Regions from separate parts of the Homo sapiens genome. Here all the other regions are linked to region 1. The links are contacts of gene promoters, found by promoter capture Hi-C in blood cells and fetal thymus (Javierre and others, 2016). All regions are on one chromosome and are shown on one strand. The core of a region is centred on a gene start or on the middle of the fragment in contact, and the rest is flanking DNA. Distances in the headings are between cores, read along the strand shown.

Region 1 (7,009 bases), core at 3,311-5,810:
GCCATGGAGCTGGCGGTGGGCTCCGGAGGGGGAGGCTGGCCCAGGGCTCGCTGCGTGGTGACTCGAATGAGGCCCCGGCGTGACGTCGAGGGGGCCTGGACTGGGGGTGCTGGGGGATGGCTTTGGGGGCGCCCCGGCCACTCCTCGGCTTCATCTGCAATTATAACAATATTAAAATAGCCATTTGAAAAGTGCTTTTGATTTTGTATCACCCTCTAGTGTGGTTGGCAAGTCATTTAACTTTTCCAAACAAATCTGCAAAATGGAGATAACAGCACCTGCCTCATTGCGTTGTGAAGAAGATGAAATGTTTAGCCCGGTGCCCAACACCCAGTAAGTGCTAAATGGATGTCAGCTATCATTTTCATTAATGCTACTATCAGGGAGGTAGTACCCCAGCAGTTCGACACATGGGCTGCATATTAGAATCTTCTGGAGACCAAGGAATAAGAATTTCTTGGGACGTGGCTTGGGCATTGGAATTTTTTTCTTTTTTTCTTTTGACAGGTTCTCACTCTGTCATCCAGGCTGGTGTGCAGTGGTGCAATGTGGGCTTACTGCAGCCTTGACCTCCAGGACAAGTGATCTCCCACCTCAGCCTCCGGAATAGCTGGGACTACAGGTATGCACCACCACGCCCAACTAATTTTTATATATTTTTTTTGTTCTAAACATATCCATGTTACATATTAGAACATTCTAGCCCCAAAAGGGCAAATGACTTCTCCCAGATTTCCCAGTGAGTATGAATTTATTATCCTAGGTTGTTTGAAGGAGGCCCTGGGCAACTCCTTTAAGGAGGTGATTGTCTCCATTCATTCCCCACCCTCCGCCCCCATACATCCCCAACAGAGGTTCTCAGTTACTAGACAGAGCACTCCCTCTCCCCACACCCCAGCCATGCTCTCACCTGGCTGCAGGGCCCCCATGGGGCTCTCTGTTCGGTTTACAGCTGGGCCAGGGTCTGAGGGACCAGGGATGAGAGACTTGGGGGTGCCTGGGGCCTCCACAGCTCCTCTCACCCGCTGGGGGGAGATGGGGTCTGCTCCATTCATTGCTGCTCTCTCTGAAATGACAAAGCAGTCATCACCTTACCTGACCCTCCTATGGTCCTCCTAATCCCTCAGGATTGAGTCACAATCAACCTCATTTGCCACAAAGAGGAAAATGAGACCTAGAGGGACCCAGGGTCAAACAGAATTGAGGCATCCAGCTGCCCCAGAACATCGCTCAGCACACTCATTGATACCCACCTGGCTTAGACGGCCGATCAGGAGCCTCTGAGGCGGGTGGATCCGTGGGCTGGGGTCCTGGTGAATCCTTAGCGTCAGGAAGGTCAGCCTGCTTGGGCGGGGGACCTGGGGAGCTGACTTCCCAGGACACCTCAGCGCCAGCCCTCTTGGGGGTCTCAACCGGCAGCTCCTCAGCAGGAGGAAGGCTTCTGGCCAATGCCAAGTCTGGCTGGGCCCCTGGCTCCTGAGAGTACACCACCTCAACTGGGGGTACTGAGCCAACATCAGGGGCTGCTGGATCCTGCTGGGTGAAGTGGGGACCTTGAGCTGCCTCCTGCAAGTGTTCCTCAAACCCACCCTGTCCTTCCAGCACTGGCCTCTTGACAGTACCTGAGTGGGAAACAAGGGTGTGGGGTGGGCCCTGGTGGTCTGAGGGAGAAGTGGGTGGGACCCTGCTCTTAGTTTTGGCCTTCAGACCCTCATCTCTAGGTGGCCACTGTCCCTCTTGGCCTTCATGCTGCAGGGAGGGAGGAACTGTGGCTACCCTGAGTTGACGTCTGGGAGTTGTGGGGATGAAAGTGAGATGAGGGTGGCCCACTGGGTGGGGAGCCACTGCTTCTTGCTGCAGAAGCTCTTGTGAGTCCAGAGGTCCTGTCCAGCCGTGGGAGCTTGGTCCTTGAGCCATCTGGAGGTCATCAGTTACTGGGAGTCGTTCTCTCTGAGCTCCTTGTGCTGCTTTGGGCCCGTACAGGGCTGGGCCAAGGGGAGAGGCTACAGGCTTCTCAGGCATCTCTTCAGCAGGGGCGTGGCGGACATCAGAGTTCCTGTGACTGTCAGCTCTGGGGTTCTCCGGGAACACGTCAAAGGCCTGGGGCTCTGAGCCCACAGAGCCCTTGGGGTGGGCTCCAGGGATCATAGGGATTTCGGAGTTTTCAAGTGGCCTGGGAAAGCCCCTCCCCAGGGCAGGGCCAGTCCCCAGGAGTGGCAGCAGCAACAGCAGAAGGCCACATACACAGCCCCATGGGCTGGAGGCCATGGTCTACTCCGATGCCTGGGCCTAAAGCCCCCACCTTCCAGTCCTCACTGGATGAGCCTAAAAAAAAAACAGGGCATGGAATGACATGTGAGGGCTGGGGGCCCCCATGCCTTCCTCAAGGGGCTGACAGGAAAGAAAAGCAACGCAAGGCAGCAGCTTCTCTGCTTTTAAAATTGCTGGACGTGGCACTTGCCCTGCTTTAAAACCTTCAGTGGCTCCCCATTTCCCTCAAGAAAGAACATAAGCTCCTCTCCTGGCCTTCCAAGACCCTGGCCACCACAAGCTGTTCATCTGTCCTCCAACACCCACTGGACTGTGTGGCTCCCATGCCTTTTGCTTCTGCTGTTCTGTCAGCAGGGAATGCTCTCTCCCTTCCCCTTCACTTACTGAAATCCTGTTCTTTTTGAGACGGAGTCTTGCTCTGTCGCTCAGGCTGGAGTGCAGTGGCGTGATCTCGGCTCACTGCAACCTCCACCTCCCAGGTTCAAGTGATTCTCCTGCCTCAGCCTCCCGAGTAGCTGGGGTTACAGACATGTGCCACCACACCTGGCTAATTTTTATATTTTTAATAGAGATGGGGTTTTGCCATGTTGGCAAGGCTAGTCTTGAACTCCTGACCTCAGGTAATCTGCCCATCTTGGCCTCCTAAAGTGCTGGGATTACAGGCATGAGCCACTGCACCCTGCCTGAAATGTTATTCCTAAAGGCCCACTTCAAAAATGAGAGACGTGGAGAGGGAGAGGAATATGCACCGGCCTTTGGCGAGGGGCCTGAGTTTGAATCCCAGTGTCTTCATTTCCTGGGGGAGTCATTTCACCTCTCTGCATCATAGTTTTCCCATCAGTAAAATGGGGATAATAAGCATGCCTAACTCAAGGCATGAGACAAATAACCAAACAGGTATGGGCGAGGTTCATACCTGATGCTTGACAAGCGTTACACATTCCTCTTCCCGCCTTCCTTCCCTCATCTTCCTGGGCACTTGTCACTCTGGTCTGATTCTATAATAATCTCCTGCCTCTTATTTCAAACCTGCAGCCTCCAGTATATACCTGGCCCCACGTGGATATCCCCTAAAAGTTCCTGTTCTCGAGAGCCTGTCAGTGGGCCAGGGAGGCAGGAAGGGGCCCCACCACCAGGAGAGGTTTCATGGAGGGTGCGAGAGCTGAAGCCTGGGTGTGTTTGGCGGCAGAGGCCCTGCTCTTTTCCTCTCTGGGGAGCAGCTGTCCCCAAAGCTTCCTGGCTGTTAACCCATGGTGGCTCACAGACACCTTAAGAAGCCACTGAAAACCCCTGGTGCTCTCCCGGGGAAAAGACCCAGGCTCACCGAAAGTTGTGAACAATTTCAAGGGGTTCAAAGACCTTTGAGTCCCATCCTCCAAACTCGAGTTTAGACTCTGTCTTAAAGCCTTGTTAGTTCATTTCTCAAACATTCACGGAGCCCCATGGGCTGCTCCTGGTCTAGGCTAGGTGCTGGGGGCCCAGAGACAGGGCTTTGCTCCAGGGTTGGGAGTAGGGGTGCGCTGAGACGCCCCTAACACAGGTACTGGCTAAAAACAGTGCTCCTGTGTTTAGTTCTTTCCCAGTGAGGCTCCTGCGCTGAGCTTAGCAACACGTCACTCCGCCCTCCCAATACAAGGTGTGGGAACAGCCATTTCACAGGGGGAAGAAACGGGGGTTCAGAGAGGGTGAGCAACTCCCCCAAGGTCACACAGCTGAGTGGACACAATCGGGGTTGTGAAACCCTCGGAGGCTCATCTTCCACAGGAGGTCCAAAAAGCTTTGCCGAGAAAACGGCTGAATGGGGCCTCCAAAGATAAACATGCCATCTGCCTACCACTGCCAACCCAAGAGATGTGGGCACCTGCGGACAAGGCGGGGGCTTGCCCAGCCCTGGGCTCCCACTCTGCTGGAGAGGCTGTGGGGGGTGGCGGATCTCTCTGCCGCAGGGACTGGGGAGAGGCCGGCCTGGGGGCAGGGCGAGGCCGTTGCGGGGCAGCCTCGGAGCTGGTCCATCTCGGGTTACCTCTCCTCCTCCTCCTCCTCCTCCTCCGTCTCCTCTCTCCCTGGCTCCGCGCCTTCCCGCAGTGTCCTGGATGGGGGTGGGCGCCGTGCAGGCCTGGTCGCCTGCGCCCGCGACGGGGGCAGCAGGCCACGCTCCCCGTCGGGGTCCCGCCATCGCCCCCTCCCTGGGCCAGCTCCTCACCTGCGCGCCGCAGCCCCCGTGTTCACCTTGCGCGCGTCCCTGCAGCCGATCGCCGCGCCGCATCCTCCGAGATGCTCAGACTCGGCTAACAGAGCCCGGCGCTGCCGATCGCGAGCCCGCCCACAGGAGCGCAGCCCTGCTTAACTCTTTCCCCTTAGGGGTGGACTCTTCTGTCAACCCTGACTTCCCCTCGCTCAGGGATTGTCAGGGCTCAGAGTGGAACCGAGGTCATCTCTGAGGGATGTGGAAATGTCTTCTGCAGCATCCCTGAAAACGGGGCAGCTAGCCTCTGCTTGCATACCTCATGGGACGGGGAGCTCACTTCCTTTCTATATCCCTACATCCTTTTAGGTAAATCCTACCTACAGCTTGGTATGTATCCTTCAGATTCTTCTCAATGTACAGTTACATGTACATCTTAAATAGAAATGACATCATACTGTATACTTTTTTTTTTTTTTTTTGAGACAGTCTTGCTCTGTCGCCCAGGCTGGAGTGCAGTGGCGTGATCTCGGCTCACTGCAACCTCCGCCTCCCAGGTTCAAGTGGTTCTCCTGCCTCAGCCTCCCTAGTAACCATGCCTGGCTAATTTTTATATTTTTAGTGGAGACAGGGTTTCACCATGTTGGCCAGGGTGGTCTCGAACTCCTGACCTCAGGTGATCAGCCCGCCTCGGACCCCCAAAGTGTTGGGATTACAGGCGTCAGCCACCGTGCCCAGCCACTGTACACATTTCTGTAATTTGTCTTTTTCACTTTCCAATATATTCTGGCACATTTTTCATGTAAATATCTATAGATCTATATCATTTCTTGTATCCACTGTTGAGAATTCCAGCATATGGTCAGCTAGTTATTGTTCTTTATCCTGTCCCCTGTAATTGGACATAGGTTGTTTCTAGCCTTTTGCTCGCAGGGATAATGGAGCAGGGGCCATTCCTTGCTTAACACATCACTGTGCACGTACACTAGTGCACCTACCAGATAATTGCCTAGCCGAGGCATGGTAGTAAAATCTATGGGTCTGCATATGGGGCTGGTAGACACTGTCAAAATGTTCTTGGTCTTTCTTTGAACACCTCTTGATATACTAAACATCCATTATTAGGCTCAATTCCTTAAGGGAAAGCCACACAGGAAATATATGTGGTTATCAAAAATGAGATAGGGCTGGGTGCAGTAGCTCACACCTGTAATCCCAGCACTTTGGGAGGCCTAGAGAGGAGGATCATTTTGAGCCCAGGAGTTCAAGACCAGCATGGGCAAGATGGTGAGACTTTTTTAAATTAAAAAACAAACAAAAAAACAAAAAAACTAGCTGGGCGTGGTGGTACATGCCTGTAGTCCTACCTACTCCAGAGGCTGAGGCCAGAGAATCATTTGAGCCCAAGAGGTCAAGATTGCAGTAAGCTATGGCCACTGGAGTGTCACTGGAGTGCATTGACCACTCTGTCCATTGACCACAAGCTGTGTCACTGGAGTGCAATGACCACTGCACTCCAGCCTGGGCAGTAGAGCGAGACTGACAAAAAAAAAAAAAAAAAAAAAAAAGAAGAAGAAGAAGAAGAAGAAAATTTGGCCTGTATAATGGCTCATGCCTATATTCCCAGCACTTTGGGAGGCCAAGGCTGGAGGACTGCTTGAACCCAGGAGTTCGAGACCAGCCTGGGCAACATGGCAAAACCCCATCTCTACCAAAAAAAAAAAAAAAAAATTAGCCAAGTGTGGTGGTGCGCACCTGGGTCCCAGATACTCAGGAGGGTTATGTGGGAGGATCACTTCAGTCCAGGAGCCAGAGGTTGCAGTGAGCCAAGGTCGCACCACCGCACTCCAGCCTGGGTGACAGAAAGAGACCCAGTATCAAATAAAAAATCAAATTTCACTTAAAAAAGAAAAAGAAAAAATTCTTCCTAGGGCTGAGCTGACATCTCCCTCCCAATGGCTTCCTACCTCTAGCTCTCACAGAAAAGCAATACTCAGGCCCCAGTTGTGTCTGACGTGTTGCAGTTTGAAGAATATTCCATCCCTAATGGCTGGTAAATGGTGGGGCCTGCATTCAGCTGCTTGACTCTGGGAGAGGGTGCAGGCCTTGCCCGTTTCACACATGACCTGACCAGCTCTGTTTTCCTTGTTGGAGCCACTTCAGAATTGTAAAGGCATCTCTCATTTCTCTAGAGTCTTCTTTCTCCAGGACAAACACTCCGAGTTTTTCAGCTGTTCCTTGCAGGACAGGATTCTGGGTTCTCACCATGTGGAATCTCTTCTCTGTTTGCTTCTTACCAGCTCAACAACGCCCCTCTGAAAGTAGGACTCTTGGAAATGAACCTTGTTGGGAGTAAAGCTGAACCTTCACCTCTCCTTTCCAGGATTCTACTCCATTCATACGGCCTCACACTGAATTAATGTTTCTAGCAGCCACATTACTTTGTTACCCAATTGATCTAGTAGTAAAGTCTTCCCATCTCTTCATGTACCACTGGTTTATTGACTCTTAATGTAGGATTCTACATTTGTTTGTTGTTTATCTTGTTAGATC
Region 2 (7,009 bases), core at 3,135-5,634, 240 kb after region 1:
TTCTTTTTTTTTTTTTTTTTGTGAGACAGAGTCTCACTCTGTTGTCCAGGCTGAAGTGCAGTGGCATGAGCTTGGCTCACTGCAACCTCTGCCTCGTGGACTCAAGCAATTATCCTGCCTCAGCCTCCCGAGTAGCTGGGACTACTGGCGCCCACCACCACGCCCAGCTAGAGGTTTTCTTAAAGTTAATTGCTGAGTGGCTAAGGACAGGTCACTTGACCTTTTCCTTCCATGCATTCATTATTCCATTGGAAAAAAGCAAGGCTTTAATCACTGTTGGTCTCTTGAGAGTGGTGTTAGAATGAACAGAGTGTGGAATGCCTCTAAGCCAGTCCCCAGTGTTTCAGAGAGGAAGGGTAAGAGCTAGGGTGAAGTGAACCATCCTTTATTGAACTCCTGCTAGATGCTTAGCTCTTACAACTAGTCTCCTCCAGTTGCAAGTTTTGGACACATACTCAGATGATGCATTAGCCAGGATAGGCTTGGTTATGCTGCGGTATCAGATAAACCTTGAAATCTAGTTCCTCAACGCAACAAATATTGATTTCCCACTCACCTGAAGTCCAGTAAGGGTCATGCAGCCTCCTGCATTCTTGTAGCCAGCTAAGTCATCTAGAACATGTGGCTTCCAAAGTCACTGTGGCTGGGGAAGAGAGGGTTGGAAGAGGCTCACTAGCTGTTAAGTGCTTCGTCCAGGAAGTGATAGATAGCATCTTCACTTAAAATCCACTGGCTAGGCCGGGCGCGGTGGCTCAAGCCTGTAATCCCAGCACTTTGGGAGGCCGAGGCCGGCGGATCACAAGGTCAGGAGATCGAGACCATCCTGGCTAACATGGTGATACCCCGTCTCTACTAAAAATAAAAAAAAATTAGCTGGGCGTGGTGGCGGGTGCCTGTAGTCCCAGCTACTCAAGAGGCTGAGGCAGGAGAATTGCTTGAACCCGGGAGGCGGAGCTTGCAGTGAGCCGAGATCGCGCCACTGCACTCCAGCCTGGGCAACAGAGCGAGAATCTGTCTCAAAAAAAAAAAAATCCACTGGCTAGAACCAGTCGTGACGCCCAGCCTAATTGCTAAGGAGGCAGGAGTATGAGACAGAGCAGATGGTTATTTGGTAAGTACTCTCTCAGCTACAGGTTACCTCAGTTCCAGGGCGCTTACAGTAAGGTTCTGCCTAACTGTGGCCTACAAGGCCCTGCATGGTCTACCTTTGCCCGGCTCTTCAACCTCACCTCTACCACTTTCCCCCTCAGTCATTCCCCTCAGCCACTACGGTCATCCTTCACTTGCGGGGATATGCCAAGTGTTTGCTGCCTAAGGACCTTTGCACACGTGTTCCCTCTCCTTGGAATGCTGTCTCTCCCCAGCTTCCCTACATTCTTCCATGCTAGTCCTTTTCATCCTCTGGGTGTCTGCATATGTGGCCCCTTCTCATGGCAGCTTTTCCTGGCCAGCCTATGGAAGTAGGTCCATCAGGCACCCCTCCCTCGAGTTTGTTTTCAGCATAGAGCACCTCCCAGTTTATAATTAGATGTCTTTTATTTAACTAGCTTAATGTCAGTATTACGGCAGTTTTGATAAAGGATTCCCCATTCCCTAACACAAAATGAATGAATGAATGAATGAGAAAGAATGAGTCATTTCAGCAGCAGGTGGAGTACAAGTTCAGTGGAGAACCAGGGATCGCACAATTAGGAAGGCAGGCTGTGCTCTCAGGTTTGCCTCATTTCAGGTCTAGCTTGAGTTGGGAGTGTGTGTGTGTGTGTGTGTGTGTGTGTGTGTGTGTGTTGTGTGTTGTGTGTGACTGTGTATGGCCTGGAGGGCCAAACCCAGGGATTAGGAGGGAAAGGAAAAGAGAGGGCGCGGAAAGCTGTGTTTGTCCCTGATAGAGCCAGCTGGCACGAGGGTGCTTTAGTTATAGCTGAATCACTTTTGTTTGTTCTGGAAGGGATCTATTCTGGCCACATGAGTCAGCCTAAGAACAAATTACTGTGTAGTTTGACGGGCGTGAAGGGTTGGGGGGAATTTCCAGAGTGTGCTCACCCAGGAAAGACCTTGTTGCCAGCTCTGAGTCCCCTCTGCTCCAACAGCTCCTGGATTTGCCACCGTGTGAAATGTTCTCAGGCAGCTAGTGTGACGGCCCAGGCCCCGTCAGCCAAAGGCCCAGCACCCATAAACATCCTTTAGTCCTTTCTCCTGAAGGAACTGGGCCATAAACAAGCACATAATAAATAAATCTGCATTCTAGGCTTCGCTTTCTTCAGATATAAGACAACTACCTTATACTTGGTAGCAATTATCCCCCAGAGCTGTTACCTGAATTAAATAGGCCACAGATATGGGCAAGAACTTAGGAAAAAAAGCCTGACCTAGAGTTAGAGTGGTCATTATAATAACAGTAGTAGGAGGCCAAGGCGGACGGATCACCTGAGGTCAGGAGTTCGAGACCAGCCTGGCCAATATGGCAAAACCCCGTCTCTACTAAAAATACAAAAATTAGCCGGGCGTGATGGTGTCTGCCTGTAATCCCAGCTACTCGGGAGGGTGAGGTAGGACAATCGCTTGAACCCAGGAGGCAGAAGTTGTAATGAGCAGAGATCGTGCCACTGTACTCCAGCCTGGGCAACAGAGCGAGACTATAGCAAATGATGGTAGCTTAGATCTGCTGGGTGTTAATTTTTTTATCCTCATGGCTGGTCTCGGGTCGGGGGTCCACTTCCACATCTCATTTGTCGGATGAGGAAGCCAAGGCTTAGGAGGATCCCCCTGCTGGTGAGCCTGACTGCAGGACACACTCCAGACTGCGGGAGTTCATTTGCCTTCCGTGGCATCAGTGATTCATGCTCATTAGGAAGAGCACAGGCATTCCGAAAACAAATCAGAGAGAAAAAGAAATCATGCCTGGCAACCAGCTCTGGTGAACCATGACAGGGGCACAGAGAAGCGCTTCTGCCCCTCCCCCATTTCCTCCTTGTATCTGGGACTCAGCCCTCATCACTGTGGGTTCTCAGCCTCAGCAAGGCAGCTTTCACGGATATCCAGATTCCAGGCTGGGTGCAGTGGCTCACACCTGTAATCCCAGAACTTTGGGAGGCCAAGGCAGGTAGATTGCTTGAGCCCAGGAGTTTGAGATCAGCTTGCGCAATATGGCAAAACCCTGTCTCTACCAAAAAAAAACAAAAACAAAAACAAAAACAAAATTAGCCTGGCGTGGTGGCGTGCTCCTGTGGTCTCAGCTACTTGGGAGGCTGAGGTGGGAGGATTGCTTGAACTTGGGAGGTAGAGGCTGCAGTGAGCTATGGTTGCACCAGTGCACTCTAGCCTGGGTCACAGAGCAAGACTCTGCCTCAAAAACAAAAACAAAAAATCCAGACTCTGTCTGAGAACTGCCGTGTCAACCTTCTGGTGCCTGTGGCCACCTAAGCTATAGATTAGCTGTTCCTTCCGTCACCTGCGTCCCCTTCCTATCCCTGGGGGTCCCAGCAGGGAGAACCCTGGGCTGCCCACCTCCAGTGTGTGACTGAGGCTGGCTGCCAATGGCGTGGGCACAGGCCCCCACCTCCCCTGCTGCTGGGCTCCTATGTTACTTTGCTCTCATGGCCACTGTACCTCTCGGGACTGTGCACCAAGTTGCTGCCCACCTAGAATCGGTTTCCATTAGAGTGTTTAAAATGTTAAAAATAGCCTTCCACCCTAAATGCTTCCTTCGGAGGCCCGAGTTGGGAATCAGAGGTTCTTTTCTATCTGCACCTTTCTGGCAGAACTGAAGGAGGGTGGCTGTTTGCACAGTGTTGTGGGCCCCTGCCCTGGGCCAGCCACTTCACATTTGTCATCATGGAGCCCTGGGACGGCCCTGGGAGGTGTGGGGTTATTATTCTGATTCCACAGGAGAGGCGCATGAAGCTCAGAGGGTTAGGAGGTCTGTGCCTGGGCGTGAAGCTGGAATCGCAGAGCTTGGGTCTGGCTCAAGCCAGAGCCGACGCTTCCCCACGCTTACTCTTGTGATCCTAGTTCTACTCTTTGATCACAGTCTGTGTTTTTGGATCTCATGATCCTGCAGAATCAACTTTATGTGTGGAATTCTCTTGAGAATTTAATCCTGGGAGGAAAGAGTGCTGTCTTGGAAGCCTGAGGCTGCCCCTGTCTATCTGTGATAAGAAGTCCGTGAGCAGCTCACTCCTGAGCCTTGGCCTTGGCAGATAGGAAGCTCAGTGCGAGAGTTAAAGCTTGTCACAGCCCTTTCTTGTAGGCATTTGGCCTCCTTTGCCTCATCCTGCCTTTGGTGTTCTATTTTTATTTCACTAGCTCTCTGGTGTGCCAGCCTGAATGAGTGGGCGTTGCGTCTTTCTAGCTAGCAGGGAGCAGGTTTGGAGGGATGAGGACAGAGGCCATTTTCTCCATCTTCATGTTTGGACAGTGGGACAGGCATGCATGGGCCTGCCTGTCCACCCAGCTCAGACCATGCCGGCAGCTCCAGGGTGGAGATGAGGGCGGTTCATGTTTATACGCACCATTTATTGCTTGCATTTTAAAGACATCTAAAAACTCAAAGCTTGAGAAGATGGGGGTTTCACAGGAAACCAGAACTTCTTGTTGGGGCTGACATGGGGCTCTGTTGGCTTACATCCGTGGCTGGTGTGACCTGGTGCCTCTTGTGTGGGAGGGTGGATGTTAGCCCCAAGTGTGCTGACAGGTCTGGTCACAGGTAGCCCTGCCGACACCGCCCCTCCCCATCTGTTCCTCACTCCTGCTCACTTCCAAATGCCCTGTGGTGCCAGGTGGGGCCACCGCATGTCACTGCAGAAGGAACAAGAAAAAGAAAGAGAAAAGCTGGACTCTCTTTAGGATGAAAACATAATGACATTTTTTATCTTCCCCACGGGTGGAGCCCACAGAGGTCGGCCACAAATGGGTTGGTGGCCTTGATGTTCCTGCCAAATGTGTTTTGACAGAGAGGCAAAGATTTGTGCTGAACAAAACATTACCCTGAATAGGACACTGGACTGGGAGCAGTGGCTCAGGCCTGTAATCCCAGCACTTTGGGAGGACAAGGTGGGAGGATCACTGGGGCCTAGGAGTTTGAGCCCAGGCTGGGCAACATAGTGAGATGCTGTCTCTACACAAAATTAAAAATTAGCTGGGCGTGGTGTTGCCTGTAATCCCAGCGGCATGGGAGGCTAAGAGAGGAGGATAGCTTGAGCTCAGGAGTTTGAGGCTGCAGTGAGCTGTGATCACACCACTGCATAGCCTGGGTGACAGAGCAACACCCTGTCTCAAAAAAAAAAAAAAGGAACAGGACACTGAAGTTAAGTAAGGCTGTAAGTATCACCCTCATCCCCGTTTTACTGTGATGAGAACAATGAGGCTCAGCCAGGCAGGCCTCCGACAAGGAGAAGGTGCCTCATTTGCTGGGATCATGGGCGGTTCTGGGTGTAGGTGAGACCTTTAGGGAGCATTTTATACTGTTGCGGGCCTGGCCTCTGCAGGAGGTCACTGTTGGGAAGTGACTTCAGCGAGCCCAGCCGGCCCTGAGCCAGGGGAGCCACTGCTGCCCTTTTGACACAGATGTCACAAGGATGACAAGCCTTTCCAGGAGCATAAGCCCCACTTGAGGCAGTTTGAGGAGGGAGGGTGGAGGGAGAGAGGCAGTCTCTCCCTGCCAGAGAGGGGAGGCTGGGAAAGATGAGGACTGGGAGTGGCGGGGGGTAGCCTTCCAAGGGAGCACAGGCAGAGCTTTCACTTCTGTGCACCCTGGGAGCGACAGCTCTGTTCCAGACCCGTGCTTGAATCAGCACTCACCCCGACATTGTTCATTGTCATTCTGTACAAGGGACTGGTTTTCTGTTGTTGTTGTTTTTTGAGACAGAGTCTTGCTCTATTGCCCAGGCTGGAGTGCAGTGGCACAATCTTAGCACACTGCAGCCTCCGCCTCCCAGGTTCAAGCGATTCTCCTGCTTCAGCCTCCTGAGTAGCTGGGACTACAGGTGTGCACCACCACGCCTGGCTAATTTTTGTATTTTTAGTAGAGACGGGGTTTCGCCATGTTGGCCAGGCTGGTCCAGAACTCCTGACCACAGGTGATCTGCCCTCCTTGGCCTCCCAAAGTGCTGGGATTATAGGTGTGAACCACTGTGCCCGGCCTAGGGACTGTTTATTCTCCTCCTGGGCCTGTGGAAGGCAGTGGGATGCCATGAGGCAGACAGTGATCCTGTGATTCCTGCAGGCAAGGCCCTTGTTGGAGAGAAACTGGCTTCTAGACTCCGAGTTTCAGCCACAAAGGCCTTGGCCTGATGGCAATCAGGATGGGGGGGTGTGGCCTATAGAACCACTGAAGTGCCCGTGGAGCCCAGGTTGGGAGAGAAGTGCATGTTCTCTGGGTGCCCTTACGTCAGTGGTTCTGGGAGGAGACCCCGCCTTCCTGCCTCAGTGCTGCCTGCCTCCCTGTTTCCCTTGGGCAGGTCTTGTTCCCCGCTGAGCCTCAGCTTCCTGACTTGAGATCTCCAGGGTTGTGGGGAGGGTGCTTGAATTGAACGTATCAATACACAACGTGGACATTCGTTGGTGAAAAACAGAAGTGAGGTGGATCTGAATCTCATGAAGGGCTGATTCATCGTCTGCTCACTGGAGCCAGAGGGGTCCCCAGGGCAAACGCTACTCACACTAGCTTGGAAGACTCAGTTCTCGTCATTACTTTAGCTAGCTTGCTAACTGATTTTTTTTAAAAGAAGTATACTTTACTGTGTAAATAATGCATAATGATTTTGTTGAAAAATTCTATGATATGAATAAATCACAAAGAAAAAAACCCCACAATATAAAACAGGCCAGGCGCGGTGGCTCATGTCTGTAATCCCAGCACTTTGGGAGGCCGAGGCAGGTTGATCACTTGAGGTCAGGAGTTCAAGACCAGCCTGGCCAACATGGTGAAACCCCATCTCTACTAAAAATACAGAAAAAAAAAATTAGCTGGATGTGGTGTTGCAAACCTGTAATCCCAGCTACTCAGGAGGCT
Region 3 (7,009 bases), core at 3,037-5,536, 210 kb after region 1:
TGTTTCTAACTGATCCTGGTGGGTGTTGGTCATGGAAAATAGCCAGAGGAAGAAATTAACTGCAAGATCAGAGGAAATTTCTTGTGGTGAGGCAGTATAACACAGCAGAAAGAGCATTTGCTTTGGGTCAGACTTGAGTTGCATCCTGTTGATGCGGGACAGGCAAGCCCCCAAATTGGGGTTTAGCCTGGGAGGGTTCTTAGCTTCACCCAGAAAGGAATTCCAGGGCCAGCCAGTGGTGTTAAATAGCACCTTTTATTGAAATAGCAGTGTGCAGCCGCAGCAGAGGTACTGCTCCTTGCAGGGTAGGGCTACTCCATAGGCAGTGTGCCCAGAGTAGTGGCTCAGAGGCAGTTCTACAGTCACATTTATACACACTTTTAATTATATGCAAATTAAGGGGCAGTTTATGCAGAACATTCTAGAAAGGGGCGGTGACTTCTTGGAGTCGCCATGGCAATGGTAAACTGACAAGGTACACTGGTGGCAGTGTCTTATGCGAGGTACTTCCCACCACACCTGTTTTAGCTAGTCCTCAATTTGGTCCGATGTCCCAGCCATTCCTTTCGAGTCGAGTGCTGCCCCCTACCTCACTGTCACTTGGCCAACTTGGCCCAGTTACAATTGACTTCAGCCTCAGTTTCTTCATCTGTAAAACAGAAACAATAAACCTTTGCAGGGTTGTATGGATTACAGATAATGTATGCTAAATGCCTGCTAGGTGAGTTGGTAGGTGAAGGGCAACCATTAGTAATAGCAAAGACCTTACTTTGAAGAACTTATTCTAAAGAGTGGTAACTGAGATGTGTCCCTGTGATGACCTGCTCAGGCCCAAAATGACTCAAGCTTCTCTGGAAGACAGAATCCTAGGACACAGATCCCAAGCCCTGAGGCTGGGGTGAGAAGGAATTGCGGGAAGGGCCTGAGGATGCAGCAGAGAGAGCAGTGGGGGCTCCTCTGCCTTCCAGGATTGACCAAGGCTGAATGTGAAACTTCCGTGGTCTTAAAGCCTCACCCCAGGGAAGAGGCCCTGTGGCACTGAGGGAGGAGCTCTACACACACGCTGCTTGCGGAAGAGAAGGAGAAGCAGGTAGGGGACTCTGCAAAAAGAGAAAAGGAGAAAAAGAAGAGGATCTTTATTCTCTTTTACCCCCGTGTGCCTGGGATGGAGATGCTTCTCCACCCAGCCTATGGCAAACAATCATTACAGTTCCCAAGTCCACCTTCAGCCACTGCTGAAAACACAGGACTTCACTTGAAAAGTAGTCTCAGAACACTGAAATATGTCCCACTTTCAACATCAAGGAGGACATAATAGTAATCCTTTACTGGGCTCAGCACTTCACAGTTGATCTTGAGCGTTTTGGAGTCCATTTAGGCTTCATAACAATCCTTCCAAGTGGCTGCAGCAGGAGATCCAGTTTCCAAAAGGGAAAACAGAACTGGCTCAAAGGACTAAGAGCCGGAGAGTGGCTGAACCAGGTCTCCAAACTTGATAGGACTCCAAGGCCAGTGGGTGCCTTTTCAAGACCACTAATGACAGCTACCATTTTTTGGGCACATTCTCTGTGCGAGGAAAGCCCTGTAGTAGGTGTTCTATATAGGCTACATAATTTGATTTATTCCACTCCCCTCACAACTCTAAGCAGTAGGAAGGAGCAGGCCCACTTTACAGATGCTGGAAACAAGGCTTGACGAATGAAATGAGTTGTCCAGAGTCACAAAGCCTGTTGGTGGCAGAACTGCAACTTGGCCCTAGGACTTCTCACTTTGATTTCAGCTTCCTCCTTTTGCAGCGCTACTCCATAGCTGACGGCCACAGCTATACAGTGGTACCTACTCTAGTTACTTATCTGCCCTTCGTGACCTCGCCTAACCTCTTGGAATCTATTTACTTCTGTGTAAAATGGGGATAATAATATCTATAGTATAGGCTTGTAAGAATGACATAAGATCATTTTTGCAAAGTACATTGTAGATACAGATAAATGTATCTGTATCTACAATATACTTTAGCCAGTGGTGATGGAGAGCCTGGGGTCAGAATACTTAGGTTCAAATGATTTTAGCCATATTATTTAACCTCTCTGTGCCTTAGTTTCCTTATTTGTAGAATGGGGCTATAACCATACCTACCTCAGAGGGTCATTGTAAGGAGTAAGTAAAGTAACCCAGGTGAAGGCTACACATAGTAAGTGCTCAATAAATACTAGCTATTTTATATATGTGTGTGTGTATTTTATATATATATATATATATATATATATATATATATATGTATACACACACTATAAATTCTGTTCCTTGTACCCTCTTTGTTTATTTAGAGACAGGGTCTCACTCTCACCCAGGCTGGAGTGCAGTGGTGCAATCTTGGCTCACTGCAATCTCCACCTCCTGGGCTCAAGTGATCCCCCTACCTTAGCCTCCCAAGTACCTGGGACTACAGGCACATGCCACCATGCCTGGCTAATTTTTGTAGAGACAGGGTCTTGCTCTGTTTCCCAGGCTGGTCTCGAATTCCTGGGCTCAAGCGATCTGCCTGCCTCTGCCTCCCAAAGTGCTGGGGTTATAGGTGGGAGCCGCCGCACCCAGCCCCTTATACCCTATTTAATAATCCAGTTTGTCCTGCAGTCCCCTGCACCATACTCTGCTTTTTTCCCAGTAATAGTATCATCTAAGATAATGCAATTGGCCACTTGCACTCCCTTTTACCACCCTCTACTTTTATTCTTTCTTTTCTTTCTTTTTTTTTTTTTTTTTTTCAGAGACAGGGTCTCATTCTGTCACTCAGGCTGCAGTGCAGTCATAGCTCACTGCAGCCTCAAACTCCTGGGTTCAAGAGATCCTACCACCTTAGCCTCCTGAGTAGCTGGGACTATAGGTGTACACTACCATGCTTGGCTCATTTTAAAATTTTTTGTAGAGGCCAGGCGTGGTGGCTCATGCCTGTAATCCTAGCACTTTGGGAGGCCGAGGCAGGCGGATCACGAGGTCAGGAGTTCAAGACCATCCTGGCCAACACAGTGAAACCCTGTCTCTACTAAAAATACAAAAATTAGCTGGGCGTGGTGGCGCGTGCCTGTAATCCCAGCTACTCGGGAGACTGAGGCAGGAGAATTGCTTGAACCGGGACCTGGGAGGCAGAGGCTGCAGTGAGCCAAGATTGCGCCACTGCACTCCAGCCTGGGCTACAGAGCAAGACTCCGTCTCAAAAAAAAAAAGTTTTTTGTAGAGATAAGATCTTCCTATGTTGCCCAGGCTTCTACTTTCATTCTCCAACATAGCTTATCTGCCTATTTTTATTGCTTGTTGTCTGTCTCCCTCCAGGACAAGGATTTTGTCCTTCTCTTCAGAGGTATTCCCAGCACCTACAACAGTGCCTGGCACATAGTAGCTGCACGATACATATTAGCTACTATAGTAAAGTCTACCTGACTACCCTATTTAATAGAATATTCCCCATGCTCAATCTGAATTCCTGATTCCCTTTAACCAACTTTTTTTCCTTTTTTTTTTTTTTTGCAATAGTGCTTATTACCTTTAAGACACTCTGTAACATACTATATTTATTATTTATTGTTAGTCTTTCTCTCCACACCTAGATTGTAAGTCTTATGAAAGCAAGGGCTTTTGTAGGCTTTTTTTTTTTTTTTTTTTTTTTTTTGAGACAGAGCCTCACTCTTCACCCAGGCTGGAGTACAAGGGCACAATCTGGGCTTACTGCAACCTCCGCCTCCAGGGTTCAAGCGATTCTTCTGCCTCAGCCTCCCAGGTAGCTGGGACTACAGGCGTGCGCCACCGTGCCCGGCTAATTTTTGTATTTTTAGTAGTGACGGGGTTTCACCATATTGGCCAGGCTAGTCTCGAACTCCTGACCTCGTGATCCGTCCGCCTCGGCCTCCCAAAGTACTGGGATTACAGGAGTGATCCACCGCGCCCGGCTGTAGGGTTTCTTATTCAGGTATTACCAACACCTAGGGAGTTGCCTGGCATACAGTAGGTAATTAATGGAGTATTTGATGAGCGCATGATGCATGGTGTAGTGCCGATGGAAGTGGGGTCAGAAGGCCTCCTGCCGCTGCGGCAGAATTCCCGTGTGGCCTTCTCCCACCAGGGCCTCAGTTTCCCCTCGCAGTTCCGATTCTCTGGCCGGCGCTGGGGTGGAGCCGGCGGGGCCGTCGTGCCGCCCGTGGCCGCTGGGGACGCTGGTGCCCTCCCGCCCCGCCCACTTCCCCGCCGGTCCGCCCCTGGCTAGAGAAGCCGCAGCCCGCAGTGTCCGACCCAGTCGTCCCGCGCCGGAGCCGGCCCCGTAGCGTGCCATGGCCTGCTACATCTACCAGCTGCCCTCCTGGGTGCTGGACGACCTGTGCCGCAACATGGACGCGCTCAGCGAGTGGGACTGGATGGAGTTCGGTGAGTGCGGCCCGGGGAGGGGAGGGGACCAGGGCGACCGGAGCCCCCAGCGATCCCGCCTGGAGCGGCCGCCAAGCTCCCTCGGGCACCCGGGTTCAGCGGGTCCCGATCCGAGGGCGTGCGAGCTGAGCCTCCTGGACCGGGTCCGCCGCGGACCTCGGCCTGTCACCTGAAGGTGCCGCGTGGTCTCTGAGGACGTCTGTCGACGAGCAGGGGCCGCCGCCACTGCGCTCTGAGTCCAGAGAACGGTGGGTACGGGGGCCCTCCTGTCAGCGCTGCTGGCTCGGTGACGTCCCCAGGTGGCCTCTCATCCAGCCCACAACAGCCTGCAAAGTGCGAGCCTCGACCCTGTAGGGACCCACGGTGCTGTCACTTCTTGGGGGGGTGTGTGTGTGTGTGTGTGTGGTGTGTTTAGTTTTAGTGTATATTAGAAGGATCTATGATTTAACATATATATATATATTGAAACGGAGTTTCGCTGTTGTTGCCCAGGCTGGAGTGCAATGGCACGGTCTCGGCTCACTGCAACCTCCACCTCTGGGATTCAAGCGATTTTCCTGCCTCGGCCTCCCGAGTAGCTGGGATTACAGGCGCCCGCTACCACCCTGGCTAATTTTTTGTATTTTCAGTAGAGACCGGGTTTCACCATGTTGGCCAGACTGGTCTTGAACTATTTTTTTTTTTTTTTTTTTTTTTTTTTAAGACGGAGTCTCACTCTGTCGCCCAGGCTGGAGTGCAGTGGCGCGATCTAGGCTCGTTGCAAGCTCCGCCTCCCGGGTTCACGCCATTCTCCTGCCTCAGCCTTCTGAGTAGCTGGGACTACAGGCGCCCGCCACCACGCCCGGCTAACTTTGTATTCTTAGTAGAGACGGGGTTTCACCGTGTTAGCCAGGATGGTCTGGATCTCCTGACCTTGTGATCCGCCCACCCTGGGCCTCCCAAAGTGCTGGGATTACAGGCATGAGCCACCGCGCCCGGCCTCCGGAACTCTTGATCTCAGGCGATCCACCTGCTTCGGCCTCCCAAAGTGCTGGGATTACAGGCGTGAGCCACTGTGCCCAGCCTATTTATCATATTTGTGATTAAATGTACTTTACCATTATAGTTTTAAAATCAGATATTTACTTTTAGTGTACATTGTTTTGATCACAGTATTTATGACTATCAACCTGTTTTGAGATCAGATGTGTCCTAATAGATTCAGTGTGTATAATGGGGCCTAAGCACAAGCACTTACTTTCACTCTATTGCAAGGTGCACAGTTCTAGATAATTCCGTGGGAAGGCACTCAGACAGCCTCCATATGTTTTGTTTGTTGGTGCCTGACGGATGACTGGCGGAGAGGGCCATGGACTCTGCGGGGAGGCCGCTTGCCTGTTGTCTCTGCTTTCCAGGTGGAGATCTGCATTCCAGGCTCTTGCTGTATGACTTTGGGCCAGTTTGTTAACCTCTCTGAGCCTCAGCTTCTGAATCTGTATGTAAACTGGAGATGATAATTATAGCTTCTTCATAAAGTTGTGAGGAATGAAAATACTGTATAAAAGCACTGACACCTAAGTGTTAAATATTCTTATAAGTCATAAGTTGTAATATTCTCTTTTCATTTTTATTTTTTTGAGACAGTCTCATTCTGTGGCCCAGGCTGGAATGCAGTGGCGAGATCTCGGCTCACTGCAGCTTCCGCCTCTTGGATTCAAGTGATTCTCTTGCCTCAGCCTCCCGAGTAGCTGGGATTACAGGCATGTGCCACCACGCCCACTAATTTTTATGTTTTTAGTAGAGATGGGGTTTCGCCATGTTGGCCAGGCTGGTCTCGAACTCCTGACCTCATGTGATTTGGCCGCTTTGGCCTCCCAAAGTGCTGGGATTACAGGCGTGAGCCACTGCTCCTGGACCTGGCTTCACTACTTTGAATGTTTCCTGGGCAGTGAACAAACTTTGTGTGAGACTCCCTCTCATTTTTTCCACATTGGCCCAGCCCTCAGTTACAAATGCCAGAACAACTTCTGTTTCTAGGAAATTCAATTAGAAGGCATACCTATGACTTAAAAAAAAAATAAAGCTTTACTGAGATATTCACATACCATACAATCCACCTGTTTCAGGAGTACAATTTAGTGGTATTTAGTATATTCACAGGGCTGTGTATCCATCTTCACAATCAATCTTAGAACATTTTAATCACCCGAAGAAGAAACTCTGTACCCGTTAACTTCCAATCCCCTCCTTCCATTTTCCTGAGTTTTAGACATTGCCTATTTTGGACATTTCATATAAATGGAATCATATAATATATAGTGCTCTGTGACTGACTTGTTTCAACTAACATGAGGTTCATCCATGTTGTAGCATGCGTCAATACTTAGTTTCTTTTTTTTTTTTTTGAGACGGAGTCTCGCTTTGTCACCCAGGCTGGAGTGCAGTGGCGCAATCTCGGCTCACTGCAAGCTCCACCTCCTGGGTTCATGCCATTCTCCTGCTTCAGCCTCCCTAGCAGCTTGGACTACAGGTGCCTGCCACCATGCCCGGCTAATTTTTTTGTATTTTTAGTAGAGATGGGGTTTCACTGTGTTAGCCAGGATGGTCTTGATCT
Region 4 (7,009 bases), core at 2,182-4,681, 180 kb before region 1:
GGCCCTGCCCCAGATTTACTAAATCAATCTGCAGTTTAACAAAATCCTCAGGTGATTTGTATGCTCATTGAACTTTAAGAAGCAGTGTTTTAGAACAGGTTCTTAAAAAGGAACAAATAAACTCATTTAACTAAAGTTAACTGATTAAAGAGGATTTGCTAGGGTATTCTTTCCACATCTGTTTGCTTTCTCTGGGAGAATAAGAAGTCATAAGTCAAAGAAAAGCATCTCTCGTGGTGAAATTTCAATCCTCAGGGATAATTAGTTACTGTAGTAACCTCATCACTGGTTTCCAGTCTTGTCCCTCTCCAATTTACCCTCCAAGCTGTGGCCAGAGTGACTATCCTGAATTGCACACCTGCCAAAAAGTCTTAAGTGTCTCCCGGTGGCCTATGGGACAATATCCAGCCTCCCTGGCCTGGCTTCCAAAACCCTACACAAACTGTCCCACTTTCATCTCCAGCCCCTTTTTCCACTCTCCCCCCAGCCTGTGATTTTAAGCTCCATCACACTCTACCTCTCTCCACATAGAACCATGCCTCTAAGCCTTTGTTTATGCTATTCCTTCTGCCTGGAATGTCCTTCTTCCTCTCTGACAAGTGCACACCTACCCATCCTTCAGTCCCCAGCTCTAATGCCCCATTCTCCAGGAAGTTTTCCCCCAGGCAGAAGGCACAGCTCTCTCTGGGCTCCACAAAGCCCTCAATCCCAACCTTAATTGGAGCACAGCACACACCCTGTTGTCATTTTCTGTAGGTCTGTCTCTTGCACATGTCTGGGATCAACTTGAAGGGCAGAGACCAGGTTTGAGTTATTTCTGCATTCCCAGCACCAAGAACAGAGCCATCTCCAGCCTCAGTTCCCAAACCTAGGCTAGAACACTTAGCTCTTGGCAGCAAGTTAAATGGACTGACTGGCACCTTCATTCTCTCGACTTCTTTCTCTTCAAGAACCCAGGGCTATTGGGAGAGCAGCCCGTGTCCCACCCACTGTCATCCAGAAGTGAAAAGCTGGGGACAGTTTAGGCCCTAGATAGTGCTGCCACAGGGCCTGGGCTGTGGGAAACAGGAAGCATTAATTGACCAGAGGAAGCCCCACCCTGGACTCAGCCTCCCTCAGCCATCCAGCACCCAATCCTGCCCTGGACTCACGTGCCCAGAACATCTCGGAAGTCGTAGATGTCTCTAATGTCCTCCGCCTGCTTCCACCTGGGGCCTTCCACTGCCCCCAGCATGGCCCACTGCCCCCCGACCACAGCCAGGGCTCCTGTAAGGAGAATGGAAGGAGGAGACTCAGCAGAGCCCAGCCCTCTGTCTGGGAATTTACTGCAGGCCCCATTCAGTCATTCAACCTGCATTTATTCATCCTTGATTCATCCATTTGACAAAATCATTCAACAAACATTCATTTGTTTATTCAACATTCAGCAAATTCTCATGCCTAGAGAAAAACCTTTCACAGTGGCAGCAAAATTCTTTATTTAACAAAGTCATGCATTCATTCATTCATTTATTCTAGTTCTCTTCCCAGTTTTCCCCCTATCCAAATCCAAGCACCTAGGGAAACCCTGACTTCTGGCAGTACAACAGATAAACCCCCAGAGCAGCTGGTAGAAGCCTGGAGGATCCCCCTGTCCCCAGAACCAGTGATGTCCCCGCCCCACCCTGGGGATTGCTGGGGTGTCTCCTTTCCCTCCTCCTTCCCCCGACTCCCCGGCCTCTCCGAAATCAGGTTTCCAGCAGCCTGGGCTTCCAGCAACATCTCAGCCACATTTTTAAATAGCTCTTTCTGCACTGTTACCACAGCAACAACAGCCACAGCTGGAGCTCCCCAGACCTCTCCCTCCTGACTCCCCATCTGGGTCCCGGGAGCATGAGAAATGGTCCTGCTCACTCTGTCCCTTCCTGGCCCCATCTAACCCTATCCAGCCTGGCCCTTCCTCTGCTGAGGTCTGTCTCATCCAGCAGGAGAGGGTGGGAGTTCTCTCCCATTTATCAGATGAAGAATGGGGAGACTGAGGTTGGAGTTAGGTAGAGGCTGGCTCCAGAGGCCCTAATGACACCTGGCCTGGGGCCCCCAGCTAAGCTTGCTGAGGGCAAAGGCCATCGAATGGCCTTGGCTGGTACTTCCAATATGAAGCCAGAATGGGCCCCATTCAGAGAACACAGCCTCCCAACCCATCCACAGATGAGGCCAAAACAGAGCCCAGCATGCTTTGTGACCTCAGGGAGAGCACTTTCCTTCTCTCTTTTTCTCTAAGGGAGAATGAGGAGAAGGTGCCCTGACTAGGGCCTCTGGTGTGAGATTCCACTCCTGGAACAGGACCTTTTTCCCAGGGGACCCTGCCCACCCATCCAGGGGCAGAATCTTCTAGGAAAGGAGACTCGAGTGTAAGCTCTAGAGGCAGAGTCTGAAACCCACATGGAGGCCTACCAAATACAACCCTCACAGATCCACACACATCCCTGTAGCAGACATGCCACACCAAGCCCCCTCCACAGCCCTGAACTCAAACACCTGCCTCCCAGATCCAGTACGCCTTGTATCCACATCCCGTGACACCTGATCATACATGTACTCCCAGACATCAGCACACATGTCCACACCACACAGTGCCCCAGACAGCCCTGCACCCGAACACCTGCCTGTCCATCCAAACATCCCTCACCCAGCTCCCTCTTACACCCCAAAACACACATCCACCCGCACCCACACAAGATGACACCCAGACACACACACACACACCCTCATATACCAGACGTACCCTACACCCTCCAGCTCCTCTACCCCATCCCCTGGAAGCTCCTGTATTCCAAACCAAACCCCAAGTCCTTACACACCTAACTCCAAACATCCTCAGTACACAATTGTACACCCCCTCCTAACTCTGACTTAAGACCCTGAGAGCCAAATACCAGCACACAAAACACGTGGACACCCCTCTGGAACAAAAAACACACAGATTCCCAGATCCTCCACCCATGTCTGACCCACACGCCTGTCCTAAGACAGTACACTCCGCAAGCCCCCCCACCCCATGGATACCTCCAAATGCCCACGCCCTTCCAGTCAGGCCCAGCTGAAGGCGCTCACACAGGCCCCCTTCTCTATTACCCACTCAGTGTCCCATAGGCCCGCCTGGCACCTGCTGGGCCTGGGACAGAGGTGGAGAAAGGCCCAGCCCTGCCCCTCAGGGTCCAGCCCGCCCGGGAGAGTGCCCAGTGGCCACTCCTTGGGAAAGGATACCCAGAGGCTAGGGGCTCCCACCGCCCCCACGCAGCGCCCAGGGGTGCAGGGATGGGGGGCCCGGCTGTACCTGCGGCTGCCCCGCCGCGGGGCTGGCTGGGAGGCCCGCGGTGGTTGGCGCCGAGCTGTGGCCGCGGTCCTCACCGCTGCGTGCCTGGGCCACCCGCCCGCGCTCTTGCTGGAGCTGGGGCTCGGCTCGGCTCGGCGGCTCTCTCCGCCCGCCTGCGGCTCTGATGTCAGTGGAGGTGGAGCCTGCGGCGGAGGGACCCGGGATTGGGAGGCGAGGCACCGCTCCAAGGCTGGGGAAGGGGCACGGGTGGAGGCCATCTCCCTGCTTCTGGTCAGAGATCTCCTGCTGGACGCTTCCCGCCCTTGGTCTTAAGCGGGGTCCATTTCACAGAGGGGACAACTGAGGCCCGGAGAGATGATTTTCAAATCAGCGGGTGGTCGGAAGCAAAGCAGGATTCGAACCCCGTCTGTCTGAAGCTAGAGGCCGGCCAAACTCACCCTGTGGCCTGGTGGATTTTCTTTCAGACCAGTTCTGCGACCTCCCTTAGGGCTCTGTCTCCCTTCTCCGTGCCCTGAAGGGAAACAGGCCCTGGAACTGCACGGGAGTCTGGTGGGGGATGGGGGAGTGAGGGAGTGGGGAAGGACCGGGCAAGACTAGGCAATGAAGAGAGTGGAGGTGGTCGCAGGGTGTGGGCCCCACTTGACAGGTGGGAAGACTGAGGCCCCGGTTCCTCTGCAAGATGGAGCTGAGGCTTCAGCCCCAGACACTTGCTCCTCAGAGCGGGTGGTGGTGCCTAGAGGTATTGGGGGCAGAGGGAATTGGGGAGGAGGAAGTTAAATCGGGATCCTGAAGGAAACAGGCCAAAAAGGACCGAGGTGTCACGTGACTGGCGGGGCTCCAGAGTTTGATGGCTGGGGTCCAGGTTAGGGGAGAGAGCCTGCAACTAGGACGGCAGGCAAGAGGCCAAAGGTCGGTTTGCTCAAGGCCTTCCTTGGGAAGAAATTTGGTGCCGAGTGGAAAGAGGGGGCGGGGGGAGCAACTCGCAGGAATTGGGGATGGGGCTGAACTGGGGGCAGCCGGAGGAGGCACGTTGCTTGGGACCCCACTCCACCTCCAAGGGCCTCCAAGTGCCACTCCCTACTCCTGAATTCTTGCATGTTCCAGCTGGTGATGGGGAGAGAACAGTGCTTATGCCCAGCTCATTTCCTTTTTCTCTTTCTTTCTTTCTTTTTTCTTTCTTTCTCTTCTTCTTTTTTTCTTTTTCTTTTTTTTTTAAGACAGGGTCTTGCTCTGTCACCCAGGCTGGAGTGCAATGGCATGATCACGGCCCACTGCAGCCTCAAACTCCTGGGCTCAAGTCATCTTCCTACCTCAGCCTCCCATGTAGATGGGACTACAGGTGCGTGCCACCACACCTGGCTTTTTTATTTTTTGTAGAGATGGGGATCTCACTATATTGCCCAGGCTGGTCTCAAACTCCTGGGCTCAAGCAATCCTCCCCAATCAGCTTCCCAAGGTTCTGGAATTACAGGCATGAGCCACTGCACCTGGCCAATTTATTATGCCCATCTTACAGATGAGAGAGGAAGATAGCTGAGGTTCCTGGAAAGGCTTTGGAGTCTAACTGATCCTGGTCATGCTTTACCTCTCCGAACCTCAGTTTCTTACTCGGGAACATGGGAATATTGAAGATTGACTCAGAGTTCTGAGAATTCTATGATATAATGATATGAAGTGCCTAGAACACTATTCAAAACATGAGAGCTAGACTCAGTGTAAACTGAGACTCAGAGAGAGGACTTGATTTGGCCAGGGATGAGGGGTTAAGGGATCCATCTTCCAAATCTCAGTATCTCAGACTCCTTAGTTCATGGAAAAATACATTTCCTGCTCAGGGCTGAGCCCCCACTCTCCCCTATACCCACCAAGCACACCCACTGAGCTAGGGGTTCTTTTACCACAAATTCCTGTTCATCTTGATGACAACACCCCCTGGGTGATAAGATGACCTCTGTCCTTTCGAGGACTTGTACAACTTCTTTTTTTTTTTTTTTTTTTTTTTTTTGAGACAGTCTCCCTCTGTTGCCCAGGCTGGAGTGCAATGGTGCCATCTCGCCTCACTGCAACCTCCGCCTCCTGGGTTCAAGCAATTCTCCTGCCTCAGCCTCCCAAGTATCTGGGACTACAGGCGTGAACCAACACGCCCAACTAATTTTTGTATTTTTAGTAGAGATGGGGGTTTCACCATGTTGGTCAGGCTGGTCTCGAACTCCTGACCTCAGGTGATCCACCTGCCTCAGCCTCCCAAAGTGCTGGAATTACAGGCATGAGCTACCGCGCCCAGCTGACTTGTACAGCTTCTATGGTGTGCTTTACATTTTTCCTGCTTTTGAGCATTTCTGAGAGGCCTCGTGTTTTCTTTTCTTTAACAAACACATTATCTTTACTTTCTTAGTATTTCTATTGAACAAGTGATACATGGTCATTGCAGGAAAATTCCATAATGTATTGAAAACACACACAGACTAACTGATGAGATTCTTTCGCTTCCCAAGTGACAGAATGCCAACCTAAACCAGCTTCATCCAAGAGGAATCTATAGTTCACAATAGCTGGCACAAGATTGCAGGAAAAACACCAGAGATTAGGGGCTTGGAGACTGGAACTGGAGATGTAGTACTCATAGGATTTGCTTTCTCTGTCTTCCCTCCTCTCTCCTTGTCTTGATTTTTCTTCACACGTTGGCCTCTTTTTCTCTCCAGAGTGAACTTCTAGTTGGCAGGAAACATGGAGTGAGGCAGCCCCAGCTTTCCAATTAAACACAGTGGAAGGAAAGCATCCTCCCAATTTCCTATCTCATTCTCAGGGAAGGACTCTGGCTCTGCTTGAGTGATAGAGTGACATGTTCACCCCTTGGCCTCCAAAACTGTTGCCAGGAGAATTAGGGTGCTATATTGAGCAAGTGTACTGTAATGGGCAGCCATAAGGAATGGAAGAGGTATCTTGTCCAAAGGAATTAGGGGTGCGAGGGAGGCAAGAATAACACAACACTCTCAGCCGGGCCCCCACCAACCAGAGACAACCAGTGTTCACATTTTTAGTACAATTCTTCCAGATTTTTTGGATGCGTATACATATACATCCTTCTGCAGCCCCCAGTCCCGATGAGCACATTTCAAAGTACTAATCAAAAAGTGAGTGAAGGGCCAGGCGTGGGGAGGCCAAGGTGGGCAGATCATCTGAGGTCAGGAGTTTAAGACCAGCCTGGCCAACGTGGTGAAACCCTGTCTCTACTAAAAATACAAAAATTAGCTGGGTGTGGTGGCATGCACCTGTATCCCCAGCCACTTGGGACGCTGAGGCAGGAGAATTGCTTGAACCCAGGAGATGGAAGTTGCAGTGAGCTGAGATTGCACCATTGTACTCCAGCCTGGGTGACACGGCAAGACTACATCTCAAAAAAAAAAAAAAAAAGTGGCTGGGTGCGGTGGCTAACGCCTATAATTCCAGCACCTTGGGAGGCTGAGGCGGGTGGATCATGAGGTCAGGAGATCGAGACCATCCTGGCTAACATGGTGAAACCCTGTTATCTTTTGTATTTCTACTAAAGATACAAAAAATTAGCCAGGCGTGGTGGCGGGCGCCTGTAGTCCCAGCTAATCAGGAGGCTGAGGCAGGAGAATGGCGTGGACCCGGGAGGCAGAGCTTGCAGTGAGCAGAGACCACGCGCCACTGCACTCCAGCCTGGGCGAC

What was found. The method cuts DNA at HindIII sites, captures the fragments that hold promoters and counts their contacts. A CHiCAGO score of 5 or more calls a contact.
Region 2: a contact is called between a fragment that was not itself captured here and the fragment with the promoter of PRRT3 in region 1, in 3 of 17 cell types (total CD8 T cells, erythroblasts and naive CD4 T cells). The highest score is 6.0, in total CD8 T cells.
Region 3: the fragment with the promoter of IRAK2 here is called in contact with the fragment with the promoter of PRRT3 in region 1 in 2 of 17 cell types (activated CD4 T cells and M2 macrophages); the score reaches 6.2 in activated CD4 T cells.
Region 4: the fragment with the promoter of CAMK1 here is called in contact with the fragment with the promoter of PRRT3 in region 1 in 1 of 17 cell types (monocytes); the score reaches 5.1 in monocytes.

The regions. Positions count from the first base shown.
Region 1 is chr3:9,947,848-9,954,856 of GRCh38, forward strand. PRRT3 (proline rich transmembrane protein 3) reads right to left here and starts at 4,561. Exons shown (of 4, transcript NM_207351.5): 1 at 4,475-4,561; 2 at 1,254-2,325; 3 at 911-1,066; 4 at 1-154. The coding sequence starts at 2,268. PRRT3-AS1 (PRRT3 antisense RNA 1) reads left to right here. Exons shown (of 4, transcript NR_046734.1): 2 at 220-333; 3 at 508-622; 4 at 6,757-6,940. RefSeq lists a silencer at 4,060-4,599. The HindIII fragment of the contact is 9,295 bases long and covers 4,047-7,009 here.
Region 2 is chr3:10,190,277-10,197,285 of GRCh38, forward strand. The region is part of intron 2 of IRAK2 (interleukin 1 receptor associated kinase 2); the gene reads left to right. Among named protein-coding and RNA genes, the nearest start is that of IRAK2, 29 kb to the left of the region's middle. RefSeq lists enhancers at 1,906-2,215, 6,449-6,743. The HindIII fragment of the contact is 326 bases long and covers 4,222-4,547 here.
Region 3 is chr3:10,160,633-10,167,641 of GRCh38, forward strand. It overlaps IRAK2 (interleukin 1 receptor associated kinase 2), which reads left to right and starts at 4,287. Exons shown (of 13, transcript NM_001570.4): 1 at 4,287-4,416. The coding sequence starts at 4,323. RefSeq lists silencers at 4,122-4,251, 4,452-4,601. The HindIII fragment of the contact is 5,632 bases long and covers 845-6,476 here.
Region 4 is chr3:9,766,516-9,773,524 of GRCh38, forward strand. It overlaps CAMK1 (calcium/calmodulin dependent protein kinase I), which reads right to left and starts at 3,432. Exons shown (of 12, transcript NM_003656.5): 1 at 3,317-3,432; 2 at 1,152-1,266. The coding sequence starts at 1,234. It also overlaps a transcript of OGG1 not described here. RefSeq lists a silencer at 3,203-3,382. The HindIII fragment of the contact is 10,493 bases long and covers 2,084-7,009 here.